Linked DNA regions of Homo sapiens: all the other regions are linked to region 1. Evidence: promoter capture Hi-C in 16 types of primary human blood cells and fetal thymus (Javierre and others, 2016). All regions are on one chromosome and are shown on one strand. Each heading gives the region's core, a stretch centred on a gene start or on the middle of the fragment in contact. The rest is flanking DNA. Distances are from core to core; before and after follow the strand shown.

Region 1 (3,468 bases), core at 791-3,290:
AAACTTTTGTTTTCTTCCCTTCATACCAATACTCTTAAATCATTCTTCTCACATCTTTAAAGAAATTCCAATGCTTTCAAGATCTGATTGAAAATCAAACCTGACATCCCAAACCTGAGTATTCCTCAACTTATCTCCTACCTATTCTTCAAGGTCCTGCTTAAATCCCACCTCCACTGCATGAACTTCTCAAGTTCCTTCATTCACAATTTCTCTCCTCTCTTCTCACAATAGTAATTTTACTCTCAACACTTCTTGTTATTAACCATGTCAAATATGTGAGTGTGTGCCTACCTCCTAACAAGCCTGAGAGTCCATGGAATTAAATGCAAGATTCCAAGGAATATGCCTAGCACAGTGCTTTAGGTTTGTAGCTACCCAATAAGTACTGAATTTTTGTACTTACAAAAACTCCCTATGGTGAAATTCATTCCCTCAATCAAAACATATGAGAGGACAATTCTATCAAGTACTGTGTTGGGCACTGATGATGAAGGATCACAAACCATCCCAGCCTTCCAAGACAGAAAGGGACCATTTTCTTTTCTGCCTATCCAATCTCTCACATATTTTTCATAAACCCAGTTCAAATACCACCTGACCCCCACCGCTCCCATTTGCAGTACCTATCACACAGCCCATGCCTAAGTCCTCTATAGCCTCACTGCGACTTAAGAACAGCGCCTGGAAGCTCTCTTAAAGAAACAGTGTGGTGTAACCAAAGGCAAAGATTGTGAAAAAGCACAGAATGGCTAAAATTCCAATATCCTCATTCCGATCTTTGTGGCCCCATTACGATCTTGTGGCCTTGGGCAAATCAGTTAATGTTTTTAAACCTTGGCAAGGGTATACAAATACCATCTACATTACTGCAGTATTATAACGAATAAGAGATTTTTTATTTATTTTTATTTATTTATTTACTTATTTGAGACAGAGTTTCGCTCTTGTTGCCCAGGCTGGAGTGCAGTGGCGCGATCTCGGCTCACCACAACCTCCGCCTCCCGGGTTCCAGCGATTCTCCTGCCTCAGCCTCCCTAGTAGCTGGGATTACAGGCATATGCCACCACGCCCGACTAAACTTGTATTTTTAGTAGAAACGGGGTTTCTCCATGTTAGTCAGGCTGGTCTCGAACTCCCGACCTCAGGTGATCCGTCCGCCTCGGCCTCCCAAAGTGCTGGGATTACAGGCATGAGCCACCGCGCCCGGCCAAGGGATATTTTTAAAATGTTAAAAAGCTACTGAGTCAAATCCAGAGAATTAGTAGGTGTTCAATAAAGCTGATCTCCCTTCCTCGAAAGCGCTAGCGCTGTGATTTGCAGAGAGGCCGCGGCAACTCGTGCCATGGGCACCACCCGCCAGACCAGCGGTCTAGCGGTCCAAGACGCCTCGGCCACCCCCCACCACCGCACCGGGCCTCACCTTGGTGGTCGTAGACGCTAATGTAGGAGATGCCCACGGCCATACACCACACCACGAGGCTCGCGATGTCCGAGAAGCTGGGTTCCTGCTCCACCTCGGTGATCACCAGGCCCATATGCACAGGCAGCTTCTCCAAGGAACGACCGTCCGCGCGCCAGCGCATCCGGTGGTGTGCGGCTGCCAGGCACGACCCCCCGCGCGGGTGCCGGTGGTGACGGCGGTTCCTGCCGACTGCCGGGGGCTTGCGGAGCGTGAAGCCGAGCGGCGCTAGGACCGCGGCAGAGGCGGCGCGGCAGCAGCGCCGCCAGATCCAGTTCCAGGTGCCGAACCGAACGCGGAGCCAGGAGGTGAGCGTGCGGTGCAGACAGAGCAGCGCGTGCAGCACCCGCCACACCAGCTCGTACAGCCCCGTCATACTCTTGTGGCCCTCAGACACCCCCTCTCCCTCCCGCCCACTCCCGCAGCGCGACGGCTTTTTATCCGCCCCTGCGGCCGGCGCGGGCCATCGCTCCGCGTCCCCCCGCCCCCCGAGCCCGAACCCCTTTCCACTGCCAACACCTCACCTCGCCCCCGCCGCCATCTTCCTCCTCCCTTGGCAGCCCCGCCCCCAGTAGTACATGGACAGTTCCGATTGGCCAGCGTGGAATTCTGACGCGGCTTCTGGGTCCGAGAACGTGGCCCGTTCCGGCGCAGTGAGGGAAGGCGCACGCCTGCGAACTAGCCGGGCCGATACCGCGGGCGCCCCCTGGTCGCGTGGAGGGCGATGAGCGAACGACCCGGGACTTGTCTGAATGGGACCCCAGCAAGGCACACGTGGTCTTCAATGCGATGGGCGCTTCCAGGGGACCCGGCGTCCCTTGGGTCCAGGAAGTCTTATACTGTCTCCTCTCACGGCCCCGACAGAAACGGTTTCTGAGGAGTAGAAGTGTCCTAAGTGGATTGGAAATTACAAATGCCGGAAAGAACCTAGGGATGGAAAGCAGCCCTCAGTAAGTGTTGATGCTGGGAATCCACCAGGGTTTCCAAAAGTGTCCTCAAAGGCTGGAGTGATCCTGCTACTGTCCTTTATTCAGCCTCCCGGCTGAGGCTGGGAGCGAGGCTCTTTAGCCATGTTCCTGAAACACCCCTCTACCCATGTCATTCTCATCTAAGGTATCCTTTCCTGGCTGTACATTGCTTAATAGAGGCTCTACAGCTTGGCAGTCCAGTCACTTAATTCTTTTTTTTTTTTTTTTTTTTTATTCGGCAAGACTTTGACCAACCGCCGTGGGTTAGGTTTACAGTGGGGAAAAAAAATAGAAATTGTGCCTGACTTCAATGACCGCCACTATTTGAAGCAAACTGCCCATCCAAGCCTTATCATCCCCTTTAACACCCTAATGTTTCTGTCCATGTGGACTTCGACGTGGTCCTCTAGAATGGTTTTGTACTTCCCCGCGGTAAGTCTGTACTGTCTTTGCCCTTTTTGTTCAAGCTCTTCTCCTGAATTCCTGATTCCCGACTTGGTATTGCCGACATTCCAACCCATTTCTCAAGGTTTATCCTACATGCTACATCCTCTATCATCATATATATGTGTGTGTGCAACAATAATATTTATATTATTTGCATTTATATTTATATAAGTATATATATAAAGATTAGGGAGGTATTACAAAAATGCAACTGTACACATACACACGTATACACACATATTTACACACGTGTGTGTGTGTAAACAGTTGCGTTTTTGTAATACCTACCTATTCTTTGTTCGCTAAAGCCTCTTTTTCCCCCTGGGAAACATCTGTTCACGTCTTGGCTATGTGACTTAATTTTTCTAACATTGTCACTTTTTCAACTAGTCTCATTTTGGTTTCTAAGACTCATTTAACTTTACTTTAAAAGTTGAATCTCATGTCCATCTCCCTTTCGCAGTGCAATTTTCCTCCCTTTGGCAGTGCAGCCTGAAGAACTGAGGGCTGGGCACCAGGCACACCCTTCACACACTTCTTTCTCTCCAGGTCTCCTCTGCGGTAGCTCCTCTGATGATGGACAAAGAAGGA
Region 2 (3,458 bases), core at 635-3,134, 1.4 Mb after region 1:
ACTTCTCTTCCGCAAGGAGCAAGTTGCAAGCAAGAGAAACTGTTTTCTGCTCATTTGCTCCTTTATTTAACATTTTAATAATCTATGGGATACTGTGTAAGGTAGTGTGCTAGGCACTCGATAAACAGAGGGAAACGAAACCATGATCATGTCCTCTTGCAGTTTACAGTCTCCTCAGATATCGTTTGTGGTATGTTTAGGCTTTAATTTTGTCTTTCTGTGCATTTGCCTAAGTATATTTCTGGTCTTGATATTGAAAGACAGATTCAAGCTGTAATACATCACAGCTGTTGGGCAGGAACTCACGGGAAGCCATGAGCAAGGTAGAAGGGGCTGCTATTAGAAACAACTTGAGGCACCCATAGATGCAACCAAACCTTAATCCAAGGTGTATTCATTTCATATTGCTTCTGTAACAAATTACCACAAATTTAATAGCTTAAAATGCACAAATTTATTTTCTTATAGTGCTGGAGTTTAGAGGTAATAACCTCAAGGTGTTGTCATTCCTTTGGAGGCTCTAGGATTGAATCTATTTCCTTACCTTTCAAGCTTCTAGAGGCTGCCTTTATTCCTACGATCCTGGCTCCTTCCTCCATCTTCAAAGCCAGCAACATAGCGATTTCCCTTTCCTCCCTCCCACACCTATTCTCCACCATTCCTTCCCTCTCTCTGTGCTTTCGTCCTCTTATCTTCTCTGACTGACCCTCCTGCCTCCTTCTTATAAGAAATTTGTAATTCCATAGGGCCCACCTGTATAATCCAGAATCATCTTCTCATCTCCAAATCTTTAACTTAATCATATCTGCGAAGTCCCTTTGGCCGCATAACTAAGACAGGTACATCTTTGAGGGCCATCAGGCTACTACCACACAAAGCAAATTAAGTAGAAAATAACGTTTGCCTCTTTTATACCTTGAGTCCACCAGCTGCATGTTGCCCTTTGCAAGTTTGTTTTCTACTTCAAGGCCATCTTAGTTGTCCATTTTAACTAGCCTTTCCTCACAAAATGGTGGTATGTGGCTCCCCCCACTGATATTTCTCTGAGGCCTTGTAGCTCTCTAAGACAGCACCAGTTTAACTCACAAGTCAACAAACTGGAACACTTCAACCAGAGACATTGACATCCCCCTCTAATGAACTCAGCTGATTGCTAAAGACAGATGCTTCGTTAGAGCCAAACATTCCTATCTTACATAACTAAATATGATAATAAATTAAGTTCTTGGGGCTGGAAATAGTTATAATTTCCTCTTTCTTGCAGTGAAAAGGCATGGAACATTTAGCAAACTGATCCTGGCTTAATTTCTACCGATACTATGCAGCACAAACTCTTATTTGATGCAGATTATAAATCGAAAATTAGCAATGAATACTATGCATCGCTTTAGTGGTAAGAGGCTGCTGAGTAGCTTTTTTTCCCCAGTAACCGTAGAGGCAAGAATTGATATTTTTATGTCACTTTTACTAAGAAGGGGGGAAACATTTTGCTATTAATCTTAAAGAGAAGTCTTTTGCTGCTAGTTACGTGGAGTAACAGGGAATAGATTTACCTTCCTGCCTCAAAAAAGTGAAGACCAGAAAAACATTTGTTTTCAGACACTGGAGAGCAGGCACTGTTACGGCTGTGATTTTACAACTGCTCCTACATGCTGGGAGCAGTCGCTAGATGCATCTCAAGGTGGGTCGTCCGCGCTTCCAGACTCAGCACAATCGACATTTATTTACGTAGGTAAAATTACTGTTGCTATGGGTAAATTCACAGAAATAAAGCCCAGAGAATCCGGTTGGCTGGCAGGGAGCGGCGGAACCAATCCCGGGCTCAGCAAGTTCTCGCGATACCGTGAGATCTCCAGTCCTGACGACACCGCCGCTGAAATGTTAGTGAGACTGTAGGGTGGGCGGTGCGAGCGGCGGTTAGCTCCCAGTTCGGCCTCTGAGGAAAACGGGCGTTCGCCTGCGGTTGGTCCGACTGTTAGCAACATGAGCGGCCTGGATGGGGTCAAGAGGACCACTCCCCTCCAAACCCACAGCATCATTATTTCTGACCAAGTCCCGAGCGACCAGGACGCACACCAGTACCTGAGGCTCCGCGACCAAAGCGAGGCGACACAGGTGATGGCGGAGCCGGGTGAGGGAGGCTCGGAGACCGTCGCGCTCCCGCCTCCACCGCCTTCAGAGGAGGGGGGCGTACCCCAGGATGCCGCGGGCCGTGGCGGTACTCCCCAGATCCGAGTTGTTGGGGGTCGCGGTCATGTGGCGATCAAAGCCGGGCAGGAAGAGGGCCAGCCTCCCGCCGAAGGCCTGGCAGCCGCTTCTGTGGTGATGGCAGCCGACCGCAGCCTGAAAAAGGGCGTTCAGGGTGGAGAGAAGGCCCTAGAAATCTGTGGCGCCCAGAGATCCGCGTCTGAGCTGACGGCGGGGGCGGAGGCTGAGGCGGAGGAGGTGAAGACAGGAAAGTGCGCCACCGTCTCAGCAGCCGTGGCTGAGAGGGAGAGCGCTGAGGTGGTGAAGGAAGGCCTGGCGGAGAAGGAGGTAATGGAGGAGCAGATGGAGGTAGAGGAGCAGCCGCCAGAAGGTGAAGAAATAGAAGTGGCGGAGGAGGATAGATTGGAGGAGGAGGCGAGGGAGGAAGAAGGGCCCTGGCCTTTGCATGAGGCTCTCCGCATGGACCCTCTGGAGGCCATCCAGCTGGAACTGGACACTGTGAATGCTCAGGCCGACAGGGCCTTCCAACAGCTGGAGCACAAGTTTGGGCGGATGCGTCGACACTACCTGGAGCGGAGGAACTACATCATTCAGAATATCCCGGGCTTCTGGATGACTGCTTTTCGAAACCACCCCCAGTTGTCCGCCATGATTAGGGGCCAAGATGCAGAGATGTTAAGGTACATAACCAATTTAGAGGTGAAGGAACTCAGACACCCTAGAACCGGTTGCAAGTTCAAGTTCTTCTTTAGAAGAAACCCCTACTTCAGAAACAAGCTGATTGTCAAGGAATATGAGGTAAGATCCTCCGGCCGAGTGGTGTCTCTTTCTACTCCAATTATATGGCGCAGGGGGCATGAACCCCAGTCCTTCATTCGCAGAAACCAAGACCTCATCTGCAGCTTCTTCACTTGGTTTTCAGACCACAGCCTTCCAGAGTCCGACAAAATTGCTGAGATTATTAAAGAGGATCTGTGGCCAAATCCACTGCAATACTACCTGTTGCGTGAAGGAGTCCGTAGAGCCCGACGTCGCCCGCTAAGGGAGCCTGTAGAGATCCCCAGGCCCTTTGGGTTCCAGTCTGGTTAACATTTGCCCTTGGGAATACTCCTGCACAAGGTCTCCTACCACCTTCTGCTGGACCTGTGCTTGGGCATCAGCAATGAGTATGCCTTCTATTGTGCTTTGTTTTTGCTGACTTTTCTGCACCCTGTTTCCTTTGGATATTCAGTTCTCTCAACCTCAAGATT
Region 3 (3,254 bases), core at 313-2,812, 1.4 Mb before region 1:
CTATGAAAGGATAAGCATGAAAAGTAATAAAGATTATAATTTTGCCCATAGCAAAGCTCAATATATTTTTAATTAAAAAGCAGTCTTTGCTGTATGCATATTTGTTCATATCCTATTTCCTAAGAGCCTAACATAGCTGCCTTCTCATGGTAAGGAGAACACCAGTTCTTTAAGCACCTTTTATGTAAGGGAGACTTTGGAAAATGTTACAGATACAGCAGGGAGCAAGACACAGTCCCTGCCTTTTAAAGGAAGTCTAGCATATTTGGGTCACTCGTGTCAAGTTTTAAGAATTAATATTAGATTCTTGAGCTACATTATGGCAAGTTTCTGCAAATGTTAATGGCTGAACTATCTCAAGATAGGCAGTGAAGCTGGATGGATTCAATTATGTTTTATAAGACCACATTTGTATACTTCTGTGCTCTCCACTGTGTTGACTTTTCAGGATATCAGGTTGAAAAGCAGGCCTTGTGGGATGTAATTATAAAAGCTTTTTTTTTGTCACTTTCAAATTACTTTTTTTCCCTTTTTGTCTCTTTCAATTTACTCTTTGAGACTGGTTCATCCTCTTTCATGGGTTAACTTAATTTTTCTGGTTGCTTTTAGATAATACAAATCATCCTTCAGTAACAAAGTCACAAAAGTCTCAATTTGATTATTAAAATTAAAATGCCCAGTACCAACAAGTAAAAACTGCAGACCAAGCCTGAAATAAAGATGAAGCTTCTCCCTTAACTGGTCTCTTGCTCTGTCTCTTGCAAGGGGGAAACCAGTAACTAGGGAAGGGGGTATTATTGCCTTTTTACTTCTTACCTGGTTTTTCTACTCTTCCTGCTTTGTCTTGCCAGTTCTGGTTTCTCACCCTTCCAAAGTTGGTCAAGGAAGAAGTGAAAAGAGTAAAGAGGAGCAGCAAACTTTTACTTGATTAGTGAAGAAGCTAGCTGGTGATCTAGTTTCAGTGCTTTTGTAGCCGTTGCAGATGTTTAAAGCTTATTCTTTCACTGGTGAATCTTCTACCTCCCACCTCAGTGGCTCTAGATTTTCACCTCAATTCCTTGACAGTGAGAATTCCCTTATGCGCTGATTGGTTGCTTACTCCTTCCTCAGCCTCTTGGAGCTAGCAGTACCTTCACCTCCACTTTGCTGAGGTCTGTGCAAACTCTAGATACCCCTCTTGCATGGACTTGTGTGATCCCACCCCAGGTTGTTCACTCTTCCGTAGAGGCCACATAGGGAGCACTCATTCTTTGCACAAACTCTGCTAGTGGTCCCAGTTCAGCCCTCTCTCTTGTTCTCACATGCCTCTTCATGCAGCTTCTCATCATTTAGATTTTCTGGGGATTAATCAGGTACCAGGTTAGCATGTTCTTCAAAGTGCTTGAGGCACATGTCAAGTTCTTCAAGTCATTCCCTCAAAGCCTTTTTCCCTAGGCTTTAGGTGTGGGACAAGCATCTTCCACCCTTCCCCCTTGAAGACACAGGCCCCTGTTACCACAGCTCTCCCCAGGGAAATCTCTGAAACCTACTCTGTAATCTTCTTGAAGCACCACCTCACTAGTGGTGGGGGTGGAAAGTAACACATCTCAGCACTCTTCTTTAGACTGCCTCTTGACATTTTCGAGAATGTTCTGGCAGCTGCTTTGGAATGTCATTTCTATCGTCTCTGGTTCTCAGCAGAAACTTCCCTTTTAATACCTTGTTATGTTAGCTGCTTATCAAATCCCTCTTTAGTTGATTGCACTTTTGATACAGAGTCTGTTTATCACTTAACTAGTATAGACATAAGTAATATATGGTACAGTGTAAGTTCCCAAACAGCAGGAAGTAGTTTATTTTGTGTTTTCTGTGCTTAGCATCAAGTCCTCTTATTTAATACCCAGCTTATGGCTCTTCTACTAAAACTGTCCTGACCAGCTACCCTTGTTGGGCTTTCCTTGCTGTGCGTTAGCATTGATTGTTGGTACCTCTTACTTGATACTTAATAATGCAAACTTGCAAATACTGTTTATTGTGTTTATAAATATACTTTGTTTTCATAATTTGACTGTAAGGTTCTCAGCTCTAGGGACTGTATCTTTTATTACATGTAACCTTAATATGAATGGTTTGCACATAGTACCAAAGCTTAATAAGTATTTACTGAAGAAGATGGTGGTCATAATGATACAGCAAGTAATTTTGTTATACAGCAGAGAAAGACAGTACTTTTTAGGAATTGTATCTGCTACTCTTCTGGGTTAATGATAGATCATTTCAGCTGAGTTAAATTATTCCTAAATATGTAAATGTTTATTGACTGCCCTTTAAACTGCTTCAAAAAGCTATTTTATTTCTTAATGTATTTTTGATGTAAAAAATACAAATATAATGTTCTTTGTCTACATTATAAGTATTTGACACTTCAGAATGTAGGTAATTAATATACTAGTTTCTTAGCAAATATAAAAAAGCCTTGTGATCAGTCATTTTATACTAACTCTGCTTTTACTATATCCAAAACCAGAATGTGTTTATATAACACCAAAACCAGTGAATTTTTCAAATAATACTATTTTCTGTACATGAAATAAATGATTTTTCACTAATTGGTTTGTTTGAATTATCTAGATACTCTTTCATAATAATTCTATATTGCTTATGACTTGAGTCTTTGAACAAGAATGGTAAGTGGCCTCATAAAACATAGCAATTGGCTGTGTTTCACCTTAGCACTAGTACATGCCAAATGCAGCATCTCTTTTTCTTTGTTACATTGTAGCTTTGCCATGCTGTTATGCAGTGGCTTGGATGTAATCTTTTAGTCATAGTGGAGTGGTTTGGATTAATTTGTTGCATTTTACTAATGGACACAAAAGCATAGTATCCTGTTAATTAACTGGTCACAAACTTATAAAGGGACTTCCTTTAGAGTTAAAGATTTAGAGTTAAAGGTTAAAGGTTTAGGTTGGGTGCCCTGGCTCATGCCTACAGTCCCAGCACTTTGGGAGGCCAAGGCAGGCAGATCACTTGAGGCCATGAGTTCGAGACCAGCCTGGCCAACATGGTGAAATCCCGTCTTTACAAAAAATACAAAAAATTAGCTGGTGTGGTGGTGGGTGCTTGTAATCCCAGCTACTTGGGAGGCTGAGGCACAAGAATTGCTTGAACCCAGGAGGCGGAGGTTGCAGTTGAGATCATGCCACTGCACTCCAGCCTGAGTGACAGAGCAAGACTCTATCTCAAAAAAAAAAAAAAAAAAAAAAAGATTAAAG
Region 4 (3,418 bases), core at 348-2,847, 1.1 Mb before region 1:
ACCCTTGAAGTAGTATCATAGACCGGAAACAGCAGCTTCATTAAGGCCAAAGTGTGTTTGTTAATTAGCTGTGGTCCTCTCCAGTGAGCCGACCAATAGATGCCATCAATGATGAGAGAGCATGGACTTATTGACGAAAAGATGAAGTCAGTTGGGCATTAGACACACATGTTTCCTCCGAGGGCGGCAGTACTTTCATTAATAATGAATTCTGTCTTTCCTTATGTCTTCTGAGCTTCCCACTAATGCTGGAATTATTAGTGTGAAACATGAGGCCTTCCGGTAATTATAGGCAATTCAGAGAGTCTTAAAAAGTGTGATCATGTATTCCAGGGAAAAACAATGTCCAGCATTTTTTTTTAAATAAATTTCAACTCGTGTGTTTAGTACCTTCTACATGCAAGGTGGTGAAGTGCTGGCTCTGGAGGCTTTATTGTGTTTAGGATTCTGAAAGTGCTTATGGCCTGAGGCCCTGAAGAGGTCTGTATTCTGGCCTTTTATTTTATTTTTTTGAGACATTCTGACTCTGTCACCCAGGCTGGAGGGCAGTGGTGCCATCTTGGCTCAGTGCACCCTCCCAGGTTCAAGTGATTCTCCTGCTTCAGCCTCCCGCGTAGCTGGGACTACAGGCTTGTGCCACCACACCCAGCTAATATTTTGTATTTTTAGTAGAGATGGGGTTTCCATATGTTGGTCAGGCTGGTCTTGAACTCCTGGCCTCAAGTGATCTGCCTGCCTCAGCCTCCCAAAATTCTGGGATTACAGGAGTGAGCCACCATACTTGGCCTGTATTCTGACCATTTAAAGAGAAAAATAAATTAGGGAACATCCCAGTCGTGGGTCTGAATCATTTTAACATTTAAATGCCTTGTTTGTAGATTTGAAAGAAAATCAAACTTTGACCAGCTTGTCACTTTTTGGCTTCCTGTTCCATGCTTTATAGAGCCATATGTTTCATGTTTGAAAAAGTTTAAAATCAGTCAGCTTAATTAAATGTTTCATTTTCACAGACGTTTTAGTCTCCTTTCTCTCTATACCCAGGAGCTCGTGCTCTCATTTTACCAGCTCATTTCTTATGAGCTCAGAGGGGCTAAACATACTGTGTAGACTAACATAGGATCGACATGATGTAGGGGAATTTTAACATTTTTAGAGACAATAGACAGTGGCTGGCACTCAATCCAACTTTCAATAAATGAATGGAAAGAAAAGGATGGGCAGAGAATTGCTTGAATCCAGGAGGCAGAGGTTGCAGTAAGCCGAGATTGTGCCACTGCACTCCAGCCTGGGCAACCCAGCCAGACTCTGTCTCAAAAAAAAAAACAAAAAAAAAAAAAAAAAAAAAAACCTGTCACATTTTTCACACCAAAAACAAAAACACCAAAATCACATCAACAAGAAGTAAACCTTGTTCTACAAGCCACCAAACCAACACAAACCTGATGCTTTTGGATAATGAATCTTGTCTGTCAATAAAACCGCAGTATGGCTTGGCCAAATCAGTAAGAATGAGGAGACGTGCAGTGAGGAGGATTCACATCAATCAGAAAGCGGTCCGCAGCTGCCTGGGCTGACGGGAGGGCAAGCTGTGGTTGGTTTGACTGTGTGTAGAAGATGCCAGAGACTGCTAGTAAACAGATTGAAAACTGTAAACTGTGTCTTCTTTCCTTTTGGGAACCTCTGTGGGTGCACTCTCCAAGGCCAAGCCCAGTTCCTTCCCTTGGTCTCATCACTGGTCTCTTTATTTCCCTCCTGTACAGTTCAAGAGGCCTGGGCGATGTGACCTGAACAGAATGAGGTCAGCTGAATAAGAAGAAATACACCAGTAAAGGAAGATTTGCAGATTTCTCACCCTTCACTGGGCCTTCTTGATTAGCCACAGTGACTTGGATCAATTCCGTCATTTCATGAACCGATATTTTCCATTCTCTACCCTTTCCTCTGACTCTGGTCTTCTTGCATCTCTGCCTTTCCAAATGGCTTCTCAACTATATAATTTTTACCAACTCAGCTCTAATGATAGACGAAACCAACATTAAGCTATTGAACTCATATATTTTAGCATGTGCCTACACTCTTGAAGGCAGCAATGAATAAAAATTCTGCTGGGAAAATATAGTATTATACCATGTAATGGTGAGGATGAATTTGTAAATACACTTTTGTTTTCAAATCTTCCACAACCCAAGGCACCAACAGGGCCGAGGGGTTTGGTGAATTGTGGGAAAATAGAGGTGCTTGGATATGTGTAAGTGAGTAGCTCATTTAGCAGGTGTTCCACCACCTGCTCACAGACCACAGGGAATTTCATAGCTGGTGCACATGTGGCAGCAAGGGCCACGCGACTGGAAATGAAAGTGAGTTGTCAATTTTTCTTCTCTCTCTCTTTTTTTTTTTCTTTTTCTTTTTTTTTTTTTTTTTGAGATGGAGTCTTGTTCTGTCACCAGGCTGGAGTGCCGTGGTGCAATCTTGGCTCACTGCAACCTCTGCCTCCCGGGTTCAAGTGATTCTCCTGCCTCAGCCTCCTGAGTAGCTGGCACTACAGGTACATGTCACCACACCTGGCTAATTTTTGTATTTTCAGTAGAGATGGGGTTTCAGCATGTTGGCCAGGCTGGTCTTGATCTCCTGGCCTTGTGATCTGCTCGCCTCAGCCTCCCAAAGTTCTGGGATTACAGGTGTGAGCCATCGCGCCCAGCCGAGTTGTGGATTGTTCTATATTTTCATTCAACATTTCTTCAAATGTCCTTTCCCTTTAAAGAATCATCAAAATCTCTTTCCTTTAAAGTTAACACTACAAGTAATCGAAGTCCCATTTCCTGGAAATATAGGCTGGATGGCAGCCATCCCTCAAATGAGCCCCCATGGGGAAGACTTGGAGAGTGCACTCCTAACTTAGGTTTCCGGTGGACATGTATGAAGCCCCACGGGCTGGAAGCTGAGGTCATGGATTACTCTCTCACTGCTGCTGAGTGCCAGTTCATCATGTGCTTCCTGTCATTATTCTCTTACATCATGCATAACCCTGTATCTCTTAGCCCATCTCCTCATGCACAGATTTCTAATCAGCTGTGAAAAAATACTATGAATATCTCTGCATTTAAGAAGAGATGCTAACTTTTAAAAAATAATAAAAAGAAGAGATGCTAATGGGAAAAGGGTTGAGGAACAGCTGTGGATTGGAAGTAATGGGGTCAAGTAAAATAGGGCAGCAAATCAGGAAATGGGGTAGGTGTAGGCACTGGGGAGAGGAAGCTATGCAAACCAGCCAACATCACCATTAACATGTTCCTTGTTTTCCTCTGAAATCCTCTTCTAATAGCTGAGGTAGCATGAGGTTGCAGTGGAAGGAACATGAGCTTTGCTACGAGATAAATACACGTAAGAATCCTGCCGCATCATGAGGCTCTGTGATATG
Region 5 (3,206 bases), core at 453-2,952, 1.6 Mb before region 1:
TGTAATAAGCGTACGATTCTCGTGCGTAATGTTGATAGTGAGGAGGTTGTGCCTTTGGGGTACAGAGGATATATAGGAACTTTGTACTTTCCACTCAGTTTTGCTGTGCATCTAAAACTTCTGTTTAAAAAAAAGTCTGTTTTAGAAAACATACACACACAAAAGAAAGGATAAAAGGGAAATACTTGTGCCCTACAATTCTCCTCTTGCTAACTGAAGAATGGGGCTTGACTCTAGGGATAGCTTGTTTCAAAAAAAAAAAAAAAGAATAATAATAATAAAAAAATGTAATTTAAAAAGGTAACTATATCTGACTTTGCTCATTTTAATGAAATTCAAGCTAATTCATTTTCATCGATCACTAAATAATTAGTAACTTTATTAACTACTAGTAATACTAGTGATAACCTCATAGTATTTGTAAAGTTTAAAAAAGGAATCTAAAAGAAAAAGCTTAGTCTTTATAAGGTTGACAAATCTATAAACAAATCTTTTAAAGATAGCACATTTCAATTTTAAAAATCATTTTGTCACTGCTGCAAAAATTAAAATGTGAAAATTTGAAGTTGTGGAATGATATATGTATGAGTTAGAATGTTTGGGCTTACCTTTTTATTACAAGTATTAAAAAAAAACTTTTGAGATTAGACATTACATGAAAATAGTATTTGTTTTCTATGGCACACTTTTTTAGCTCTCCTTAGGATATTAAGGGAGCATCTGTGATATCCCAGCAAGGAATACCTTTTTTTGGCTGGGCATGGTGGCTCACTCCTGTAATCCCAGCATTTTGGGAGGCCAAGGTGGGCAGATCACCTGAGCTCAGGAGTTCGAGACCAGCCTGGCTAACATGGCGAAACCCCGTCTCTACTAAAAATACAAAAATTAGCCAGGCACCTGTAATTCCAGCTGCTCAGGAGGCTGAGGCAGGACAATCGCTTGAACGCGGGAGGTGGAGATTGCAGTGAGCCAAGATCGCGCCACTGCATTCCAGCCTGGGCAACAAGAGCAAAACTCCATCTCAAAAAAAAAAAAAAAAAAACCCACAAAAATGAATATCTTTTTCTCTTGATCACTAAAGATCTGTAGTTGCTGATGCTTCCCATGTTGGGAAAGCCCTGTAAGATCTTGGCCTGGGGACCAAGTGAGGGAGATCACCTGTCACCACAGGCCTGCAAGGGGTCACTTGCTGGCCTCACATTGACCACAGAGGTCTTAGCACAGCTAATCTAATGAATTCAAAGTTTCCGTGTTAATTAAAAATCTGCCGAATAAACAGACCAAAAACCCTGAGGTTAAACCTTTAAACACAAAGTGACAACTTCTGAACTCAGTGACAGCTTCTGCCTGGAGACCATAGTCATCAACCACAAGACAGATATTTTTGATAAGGAAATAACTACAAATGGTAGACCCTAAGCTGATGCCAAACTGTTCTATGTAAGGAAAGTGTTCTCAGCAATAGTGCTTCCTTCCAAAAAGGAATGGACTAGATATTCACCTATGAATAAGCCCTTTTCTGACCTCTAACTTTTGAGTTGCTAAATTATAATCCCTTAGAATGTTTTAGAGAAATGGACTTATATTTTGGTCAAGTATTTCTTTATTCTTTTTCTTTTCCCCTGTACCCTCTGCCATTTGGTAACAGCACAAGAGTTTTTATAAAATAATGTCAAAATTTGGCCATAAAAAAAGAGAACCATTAAATGCATATGATCCAATTTTTTTAGCTAGAACTGGAAACACTGGGTTTTCCTTAGGAGAACGAGATACTTCTTAGAAACAGAACAATCTGTCCATTACAAGTAGTGATTACTAGAATTCTCATTTTTTAAAACTGGCTTTATCAGTCATTCTGACTCTTTTTCTAAAGAAATTGCTATTGCTAACCACGCTTTCATTTCACTGGGGAATTAATGCTCAGTGGCACATTAGAATTCATGCAATAGCATTAAATAATTACTGTTTCTTTATATATCTCCTGCCAACTTAGAAGTACATTAAAATTGGCTGTAGGAGAATTCAGGACACCTCAATCTGAAGAAAATCCCCATCCATATATATATATTCTCCACTCAGTAGATAAGAGGCAACCTCGAGTACCTGGCAACAAACGAATTGCACACATAGCAACAAGAAGTCGAGTAATACAGAAAGAGGAAAGAGAAGCTGGTCCACATTAGCTCCCGTGGTGGTAGTAAACTTCAGAAAATATCAGAGCTGTAGACAGCAGCTTGGCATGAGGAGAGGAATTCATGGTTTTCCATAAATCTAGTGACAGGCCAGGTCGAATAGGACAACACCATCTTGTCTGCCCCAGTAGCATACAGGGCAGGAGGAGAAAAGTTAGGTACAGAGCTGGAGCTGAGAGCCGAAGTGGAGGAGGAGGAAGGCTGTGAGAATTGAAGGATGTAGGGCAGGCAAGGAAAGGTGGTGCTGTGAGGGTCTTCAGTTGAGCCAGCTCCCAGTCCTGATTCGGCATGTGTCATTTTGGTGCCAGGCCTGGCCACAGCTTCTCAGACCCCAGATAGAGCTGCCTTCTGTGCATGGAGGAGCAGGAGGGCTCAGAGGCCTCAGATGACTGTCTGAGGTTTGCAAGCAGCAAAAAAGTGAGGGCTCTGTTCAGTGTATAGTGGAGAAAATCAGCGTGAGAGAGTTTCCAGCCTTGCTCTTCTCTACACTACCTTGGGCCTCAGCTTCATATGTAAAACAGGGATAATAATACCCCAGAGAGGGTGTTGTAAGGATTGGATGTGTTAAATTATATCAAATTCCCCTCACAGTGCAGTGTGGTAGCTGTTTGACAAAGTTAATTCACTTCCTCCTTTACAGCCTCGGCCTCCATAACCCATGATGACGACAGCTCCTACAGTTTGATTTGTAGAACAAAATAATACTTCTAAAATGTGAAACTACTGCTCATCCAGTGAAAGAATTGTTGAGAAGCTTACACATAATGCTTTATGCACCTCAGATCTCAAAGACTTTTGCTAATTTGTGGCAAAGAGATAGCACATATGTTGCTACCAGAGCAGTCCGGGAAGCTGGCCCTGAAGGGCAGCCTATGCTAGAAGTGGAATAGAAGCTCCTCACAGAGCTATGGGAACCAGGGCTGGTGGGAAGCCACATGCCCACAGACCTAAAAACAGAGTGGTTAGTTCTAGACGCGTGCCTGTAAAGTAGAGGTTGCAGTGCAAACTGCTGGG
Region 6 (3,086 bases), core at 352-2,851, 1.1 Mb before region 1:
ACTCAAACCTAAGCCACAGTGTGGAGCTGACTTTTTTTAATGGTAAATTTTTAAGTCCATGTCTTATGAATTTTTGTCTTTGAAACTTGGTATCTTTTGCAGTAATTATGTATTAGGTTTTGCATGGCTGACAGTACCTAACCTATTGGCATGTCATTAGGGTATTTTGATCTGTTATGTTATTTAAAATATTTGTATTCTTTATTGGGACTTTTGGTTTTAGAGGTTTCATTTTTAGTAATGAGAGATTTAATTTTCATAGTTACCTTGTCTCTTTAGGACACTGAGTAATTCATATTTTAAATTACATGTTGAATTGTCTTTCTTCCTTGGTCATTGTGTATGACTGCCAATGCCACCTTCTACCTGGTTATAATTTGTGCCCACCATGCATCCTATTATTTTGTGCTAATCAATCCACTTTCCATTTTAGTACCTTCTGTCAAGATTTGGCCAAATTACCACTTCCATATGTTTATTCTTTGGTACTTACCCAGATAGAAATAACTACATACCTAAATATTTTAAACAGACATAATTATTAGAAGAAATAAAATACCCAATACATATTGAATATCCCTTATCTGAAATGGTTAGGCCTGGAAATGTTTTGGATTTTGGATTTTTTTGGATTTTGGAATATTTGCACTATACCTATACTTACTGGTTGAGCATCCCAAATCTGAAAATCCAAAATCCAGAATGCCCCAGTGAGCATTTCCTTTGAGCATCATGTCAGTACTCACAAAGTTTTGGATTTGGGATTTTTCGATTAGGGATATTCAACCTGTATAAACATCCTTCTTACTAAAATGTTAAACTTCTATCACAGACTGTTATGTGTTATAACTGCCTCATTGTGCTTATATTTAATGCTCAGTCTCACAGCTTGGTCAGAGTCCCTTTATGTTGACCTGAATGTCCTTTCATCATTCTGATGCTTCTATAAAAGCATCCATGCTATCCGAAAACAACAGGATGTTCCATACCCATTTTGATTTCTTCATGCTCCATGTCATGGAGTCAGCTATCCCCAAGGTACTCTGTTTCCTTTGAAGGTCAGTAGTGTTAGAGACCAAACTCTAGGCCTCAGGGTCACCTGTTCAGGAGAGTCACTAATGGGCAAAAGTTCTTCCACTGCTGTTGGGTCAAGTTTAGTAGGTTCAGAGCTGGAAAGTGTTTTGATGTCCTGAGGTCATGTTTTATCCTGCTGTGTCCTACTTTTGTTATAGACGTGATTTCATGATGACTAAAACTTTCTCTTGTATGGTCTTTAATGTGTGTATCAAGGAAGCACATGGATTGTCTTGGGGGAATATGAACAGTCTCACAGGTCACATTTCTGTTCAATAAAGAGAGGTGTAAAAAATAACCTTTGGCCGGGTGCGGTGGCTCACACCTGTAATCCCTGCAGTTTGGGAAGCTGAGGTGGGTGGATCACTTGAGGTAAGGAGTTCAAGACCAGTCTGGCCAACATGGTGAAACCCCGTCTCTACTAAAAATACAAAAATTAGCTGGGTGTGGTGGTAGGCGCCTGTAATCCCAGCTACTCGGGAGGCTGAGGCAGGAGAATCACTTGAACCTGGGAGGCGGAGGTTGCAGTGAGCCAAGATCATGCCACTGCACTCCAGCCTGGGTGACAGAGTAAGACCCTGTCTCACAAACAAACAAACAAAAAACCTTTAATTCTGAATCAAGTTGCCAAAATATTTTGATTTCAGTCCCAGTGTACTTCTTGAAAACATTTTAATAATGTAAAATTATCTAAACACAATAAAAACTATACTTAATTTTATCTGTGAGAGGGCTAAACCAGAATTTAAATTCTATTGTAACTATATGAGATAATGGAATTTTCTGATACTGTAAAAGATTAATCTTCAGTGCATATGTAGTATTCTAAAATGTATAATAGGAATTTTATTGTAATTTTTGGTGTCTTATAGAAATATGAGCAAAACAAACATATTATTCTGATATCTTTAACTCTGTGGCTTAATGCAAATTTTAAACTTTTTTGAAGGTATACCAAAACATTAAACATTTATTCTTGGTTGACAAATTTTAATTCTAACAAACTTACACATTCTGTAGGCATACTTGATTTCTGTTCCTTCTCCATGTGCTAAACCTTCTGCTTAACGGGTGGAATGCTAGAGAAAATCCTAGGTTAACTCAGAGAGCTTGCCTTTAGCCAGTTCACAATATTTAGGAGTTCAGAAACTATCCAACCTTGAATTCTAGGTCACTAGAGACTTCCTGGGACCTGGTGAACCTTTCAGATGCAACTTACCAAACAACCAGTTTCCAAACCTATTAACATCACAATGTAGGAAGCTAAGCCAGTGCTTCTTCCTCAGTGTTCAAAACCATCCTCTGAGCTTGCTTTCCTTATTAACATTCAAGAAAGATAAAAGCGCCCTGGCTCACATTAGTACCCACTCCAATTGGGGTGTTCCTGTCAGTGTTCTGTCTTGCATGTGACATAGCCCCCCAGGTATACGGGGAGCCATTACCCACACACATCCTCTTCACTGTCACTCAGAGGACATGCACAGGAAGTGGTGGCAACCGCCCCTTATGACACACTCAGTAGTTCTTGTATCTGTTCCACTGCCACATCTCTTCCTTAAAGGCTTGAAAATGCATCTAAGGGTAATATTTGTAATAAAAGTGAACTTGACAGATATTAAACTAAATTTTAAAAAATTGTGTCTGTGAATAGTCCGGTGCAAGATACAGTTTAAGGGAGGAAATGGGATATACATACTGGGCCAGGACTTACCGAGAAATGAGTAATTTCTATATCTTGTGAATGCAAATTATTTTTAGGCCACTCTTCTTTATGTTTAGTTGGAATTGCAATTCCTTGGTAGAGGTGAACCGACAGAAAGCAAGCATTTGTATCAGGTGTGTTTTTATGTGGGAACAAACTTGGTTTAACTTACAGTTTTCATGATAAGCAAAACCAATGCTGGAATATTGCTTACTATTTTGAGATCTAACTTTTTCAGTGCTCAATAATACATAGAGTGCGAGGTGGGCAGATTACTTGAGGTCAGGAGTTCAACACCAGCCTGGCCAAT
Region 7 (3,517 bases), core at 914-3,413, 1.6 Mb after region 1:
GGCTTAGAATGGAAGGGCAAACTTTAAGGGCCAAAAAGACTTCCTAAGGGGAACGATGTTTAAGATGAGGCCTGATGGGATGAAGAGCTTCTGTGCAGAGCAAAGAGGCCCTCCAGGCACTGTTGGCAGCGTGAAGCAAGACCCAGGTCATACTACCCACCACAAGGGACCAAGACTAACTCTTCAGCATTTTTGCCTACTGTGTAAGGCTGCCTGGAGGCCTGCGTGTTGATCTCTGTATCCTCAGCTCTAGCATGGTGCTCAGCACACTGTGGGACTTAAAATAAAAAAGATTTCCACACCAAACATGATCCAAAACTCAATAGGTTACTGTTTTCAAGCTTTAAACATCACTTATTCTCCAGGTTTGCAGTAAAAAAACCTCTTGTCTTTGAGAATCTTATATTCTGAAATTTTATGATCACCTATGGACAACACTAGCTCTAACATGACAGTGGTTTAACAATATTACCTCCAAATGAAGGTAACTAAAGAGGAGACACACAAAACTGTGAACCAGGAAGGATTCGAAAGACACAGAGGGAAGGAAAACATGTATCAAAGACCTAGGGGAAGCAGTGGCCAAAGAATCAAGCAGTAAAAAAGCCTTCTTAATTCTCAATGTGACTAAGGAAACCAGACCTGTAAGGTAAGAAAGCAGGAAAGTGTAACAGCAGAAAAAGGACATTTAAAAAAAAATTTAGCATCTGGGCATAGAAAACACACGAGAAATTCGGGCAGCCACTCTTTTTTGACCTTTAACGTGTACCTGAACTGGTGGGTGCAGGAACTGGCGGGTGCCCATAATGGGGCACAACCCTGGCTGATGTCTGCACCAGTGATCTAGAGTTCTACCCATAAACTGTGAGGTTTCCAAATAGTTTGGGTGGTAACCATAAAAGCAAACACTTGTCTTTGCCAAGGTACTATTCTAAGCATTATACATCTCTTACTCATTTAATCCTTGCAACAATCTTGTGAGGTAAATCCAATTATTAGCTCCATTTTACAGATGGGGAAACTGAGAAGCAGCACAGGTTAAGTAACTTCCTCGAAGTCACAGAGCTAGTAACAGTGGAGCTGGTGTCCTAAGCTAGGCAGTCTGGCTGAGGAGTCCTCGCTTTCACCACTGTACTCATAACCAGCTCTTTTTCTGTCTGGATGCTTAGATCTTGGACTAAAAAAATCTGGTAACTTTTCAAAATTAGTTTCCTTGGGAATTGGGAAACCAAAGGAATAGTGGAGGGAGGGCAATTAATTTGAGTGTACAGGTCTGGAAGCATGCATACTCCATGTCCCCCTCCCTCAGGGCACAGTGAGGACCCAAACTTCGCAGACTGTTGGTAGGACTGGAATGTATTCAAAGTGCACGGAGCACGTAGTCGATGCGCAATAAATATGTATTTTCTTCTCTTGATAGAAGGTAAAACTAGGGCTAAGATCTTAATGACTTTTCAACTAGTGTTCCTTTCAATACACTACACTATATACTACGCATCTCTCCCAGATTGCAGTTTAAACACTGATGGGTGGTTGATCGTGCAAACAGAAAAATGCAGCCAAAAAAAATGCAAGTACCAAATCAAGTGGCTGTGTCCACAATCAGCTGGTGTCCAGAAAGACATGCAGAGAAAGTTCCACGACGTGAGATCTTCAAGGACAGCCCTAGTCCCCCTGACCCCGCCCCTCCTCGGCCCTAGAAATCACCGATTCCCCAGCCCGGTCTTGCGCAGTTTGCCCCTCCTTCGTTCTTCCCTATCCCTCTCAACATTAGCTAATGGCTGAGGTAAATGTGCCGGTCCCCACGGCACCGGCGCGGAGCGGAGGCTGCACACTTCCGCCCCTTCTCGCCGCTGGAGGCCGCGCTCTGCGGCAAGACTCGGCCGCCGCAGGCCCCGGGCAGCGTCCGCCGTTGCCCAAACCTGGAGGAAACTCAAGCCCCAGCCGCCATGGAGGTTGCGCGCAGTGCGCCCCGGAGCCCGCGCCACTCACCGGGGCGCTCTCGGGCAGGTTGTAGCGACACAGAGTGTGGTCCAGGTCGAATCCGACCACGTCGCAGGCGGCCAGGGAGAAGTGCTGAGCCATGGCTGCGCGGGGAGCACCAGGGAGCGCCTCGGCCGCGAAGGGTGCAAGGAGCTGGCTGGCGGGACGCTGCGGGACAGGACCGGGCCGGACGCGGCGGGGCGGGGCTGCGGCTGCCAGGGCACACGGCGCGGCAGCCTCTCCCGCCTCCCGCGCCCTCGAGCACCGCCCCTCGATACGCTTAGCCCCCGCCCCTCGCGCGGCGGGCGTCCTGCGCCGCCCGGAGTCAGGTAGTCAGCTCGCGTCCTCCTGGTACCCCAATGCCGGCGACTCCTGATCTGTTCCGCAAGCCTAGGAGCCCAGAAGGCAGTAGGGGTCCAGGAGCGGTGCCGCTGCTGCACAGCTGAGACCTGTAGGCACGTAGCCTTTCCCGAGGGCTACCACAAAATTAACCGGGACACTCCATCGCCTCAGGGCGCCTCGGAAACCAGGAGATCATGAGGTTAGACCTGACCTTTTACCCCTGTGTGAGGAATAGTAAGATCATAGAAAAAATTCATCCGCTAATATCCCTCTGACCCAGTTAGCCTACAATTTGGAAGGTCTTTTCACCCACGTGATCTTTGATAGTGGTTTAAACCAAAAACTTTATATTCCTTGGTTTCCTAAGTGGTTAAGTGGAAGACAGACCTTTCACTATTTCATACCCTGGAGTGCGTTAGAAAATAAATGTATCAGACATCGTGAAGAACCATTTTGCAAGATGATACTTGTTATGGAAACCAATATTGGTTATTACTTGATAATCCTATTTTGTTATTGTAATGAATTTTTTATGAAAGGGCATCAGAAACTTCATAGAAATATATAGAGCATACTACAAAAAACTTTTGCAAACCGGGTTTAAGGTTTATAGAGCACAAAATGTTTTGAGTGACATTTGCTTAATTCTCTCAAGAACTGTATAACTACTACCATTTTAGATGCAGAGAAAGTTAATCCATTACATACAATGTATGCCTTAGGGCATTTAATTCTCTTCCTGATTTCCGGATGTGAAGGACTAGCACTTTGAGATCTTTATTACATAGTACCTCATTTTAAAAAGAAAATACAAATCTATTATGTTTACACTGCTTCAGTTCTCAATTTAAAGGAACAATGTGTCTAATGGGACAAATCAATAGTCGTGACATAATGAAAATATAATTGATTGAGAACTGCATTTAACCCTTTCAAATACTAATCCTTCTGAGGCTAATAGACCAATCAGAGGATTAATTTAGTGCAATAGATAGTACAATTGAGTAGGAGGACACTTATACCTAGTAGACCCATTTGAATAAAATTGATAACTTGTTCCATTATAACACTTAAAAGCCCCAAACAAATCTCTCTGGAATAGGAAAAGTAAAGAATCTTCAAGAAGATTAAGCTGTTCACTGATGAGTCCAACAATCATGTTTTCAATGTCTGTGAACCAAAAGAGAAAAGG

What was found. Contacts are between HindIII fragments. The CHiCAGO score rates a contact against its expected background, and 5 or more counts as called.
Region 2: the fragment with the promoter of TSPYL1 here is called in contact with the fragment with the promoter of NUS1 in region 1 in 5 of 17 cell types (non-activated CD4 T cells, naive CD8 T cells, total CD4 T cells and 2 more); the score reaches 15.0 in non-activated CD4 T cells.
Region 3: a contact is called between a fragment that was not itself captured here and the fragment with the promoter of NUS1 in region 1, in 1 of 17 cell types (non-activated CD4 T cells). The highest score is 7.8, in non-activated CD4 T cells.
Region 4: a fragment that was not itself captured here is called in contact with the fragment with the promoter of NUS1 in region 1 in 3 of 17 cell types (M2 macrophages, monocytes and M0 macrophages); the score reaches 7.7 in M2 macrophages.
Region 5: a fragment that was not itself captured here is called in contact with the fragment with the promoter of NUS1 in region 1 in 3 of 17 cell types (total CD4 T cells, total CD8 T cells and activated CD4 T cells); the score reaches 6.6 in total CD4 T cells.
Region 6: a fragment that was not itself captured here is called in contact with the fragment with the promoter of NUS1 in region 1 in 1 of 17 cell types (naive B cells); the score reaches 5.2 in naive B cells.
Region 7: a contact is called between the fragment with the promoter of NT5DC1 here and the fragment with the promoter of NUS1 in region 1, in 2 of 17 cell types (non-activated CD4 T cells and activated CD4 T cells). The highest score is 6.4, in non-activated CD4 T cells.

The regions. Positions count from the first base shown.
Region 1 is chr6:117,674,041-117,677,508 of GRCh38, reverse strand. NUS1 (NUS1 dehydrodolichyl diphosphate synthase subunit) reads right to left here and starts at 2,040. Exons shown (of 5, transcript NM_138459.5): 1 at 1,424-2,040. The coding sequence starts at 1,838. It overlaps LOC101927919 (a long non-coding RNA gene), which reads left to right and starts at 2,225. Exons shown (of 3, transcript NR_110854.1): 1 at 2,225-2,412; 2 at 2,674-2,862; 3 at 3,427-3,468. The HindIII fragment of the contact is 6,476 bases long and covers 1-3,468 here.
Region 2 is chr6:116,278,356-116,281,813 of GRCh38, reverse strand. It overlaps TSPYL1 (TSPY like 1), which reads left to right and starts at 1,884. Exons shown (of 1, transcript NM_003309.4): 1 at 1,884-3,458. The coding sequence starts at 1,984. The coding sequence ends at 3,297. It also overlaps a transcript of DSE not described here. RefSeq lists enhancers at 1,891-1,950, 2,181-2,450, 2,471-2,520. The HindIII fragment of the contact is 6,415 bases long and covers 555-3,458 here.
Region 3 is chr6:119,071,853-119,075,106 of GRCh38, reverse strand. The region is part of intron 1 of FAM184A (family with sequence similarity 184 member A); the gene reads left to right. Among named protein-coding and RNA genes, the nearest start is that of MIR548B, 4.3 kb to the right of the region's middle. The HindIII fragment of the contact is 1,135 bases long and covers 995-2,129 here.
Region 4 is chr6:118,787,771-118,791,188 of GRCh38, reverse strand. No RefSeq gene overlaps it. Among named protein-coding and RNA genes, the nearest start is that of ASF1A, 100 kb to the left of the region's middle. The HindIII fragment of the contact is 3,743 bases long and covers 1-3,418 here.
Region 5 is chr6:119,314,012-119,317,217 of GRCh38, reverse strand. The region is part of intron 2 of MAN1A1 (mannosidase alpha class 1A member 1); the gene reads left to right. Among named protein-coding and RNA genes, the nearest start is that of MAN1A1, 34 kb to the left of the region's middle. The HindIII fragment of the contact is 2,493 bases long and covers 456-2,948 here.
Region 6 is chr6:118,810,058-118,813,143 of GRCh38, reverse strand. No RefSeq gene overlaps it. Among named protein-coding and RNA genes, the nearest start is that of ASF1A, 83 kb to the left of the region's middle. The HindIII fragment of the contact is 4,389 bases long and covers 1-3,086 here.
Region 7 is chr6:116,099,499-116,103,015 of GRCh38, reverse strand. It overlaps NT5DC1 (5'-nucleotidase domain containing 1), which reads right to left and starts at 2,163. Exons shown (of 12, transcript NM_152729.3): 1 at 1,993-2,163. The coding sequence starts at 2,085. It also overlaps a transcript of FRK not described here. RefSeq lists enhancers at 1,460-1,980, 1,981-2,503 and a silencer at 2,088-2,347. The HindIII fragment of the contact is 3,203 bases long and covers 344-3,517 here.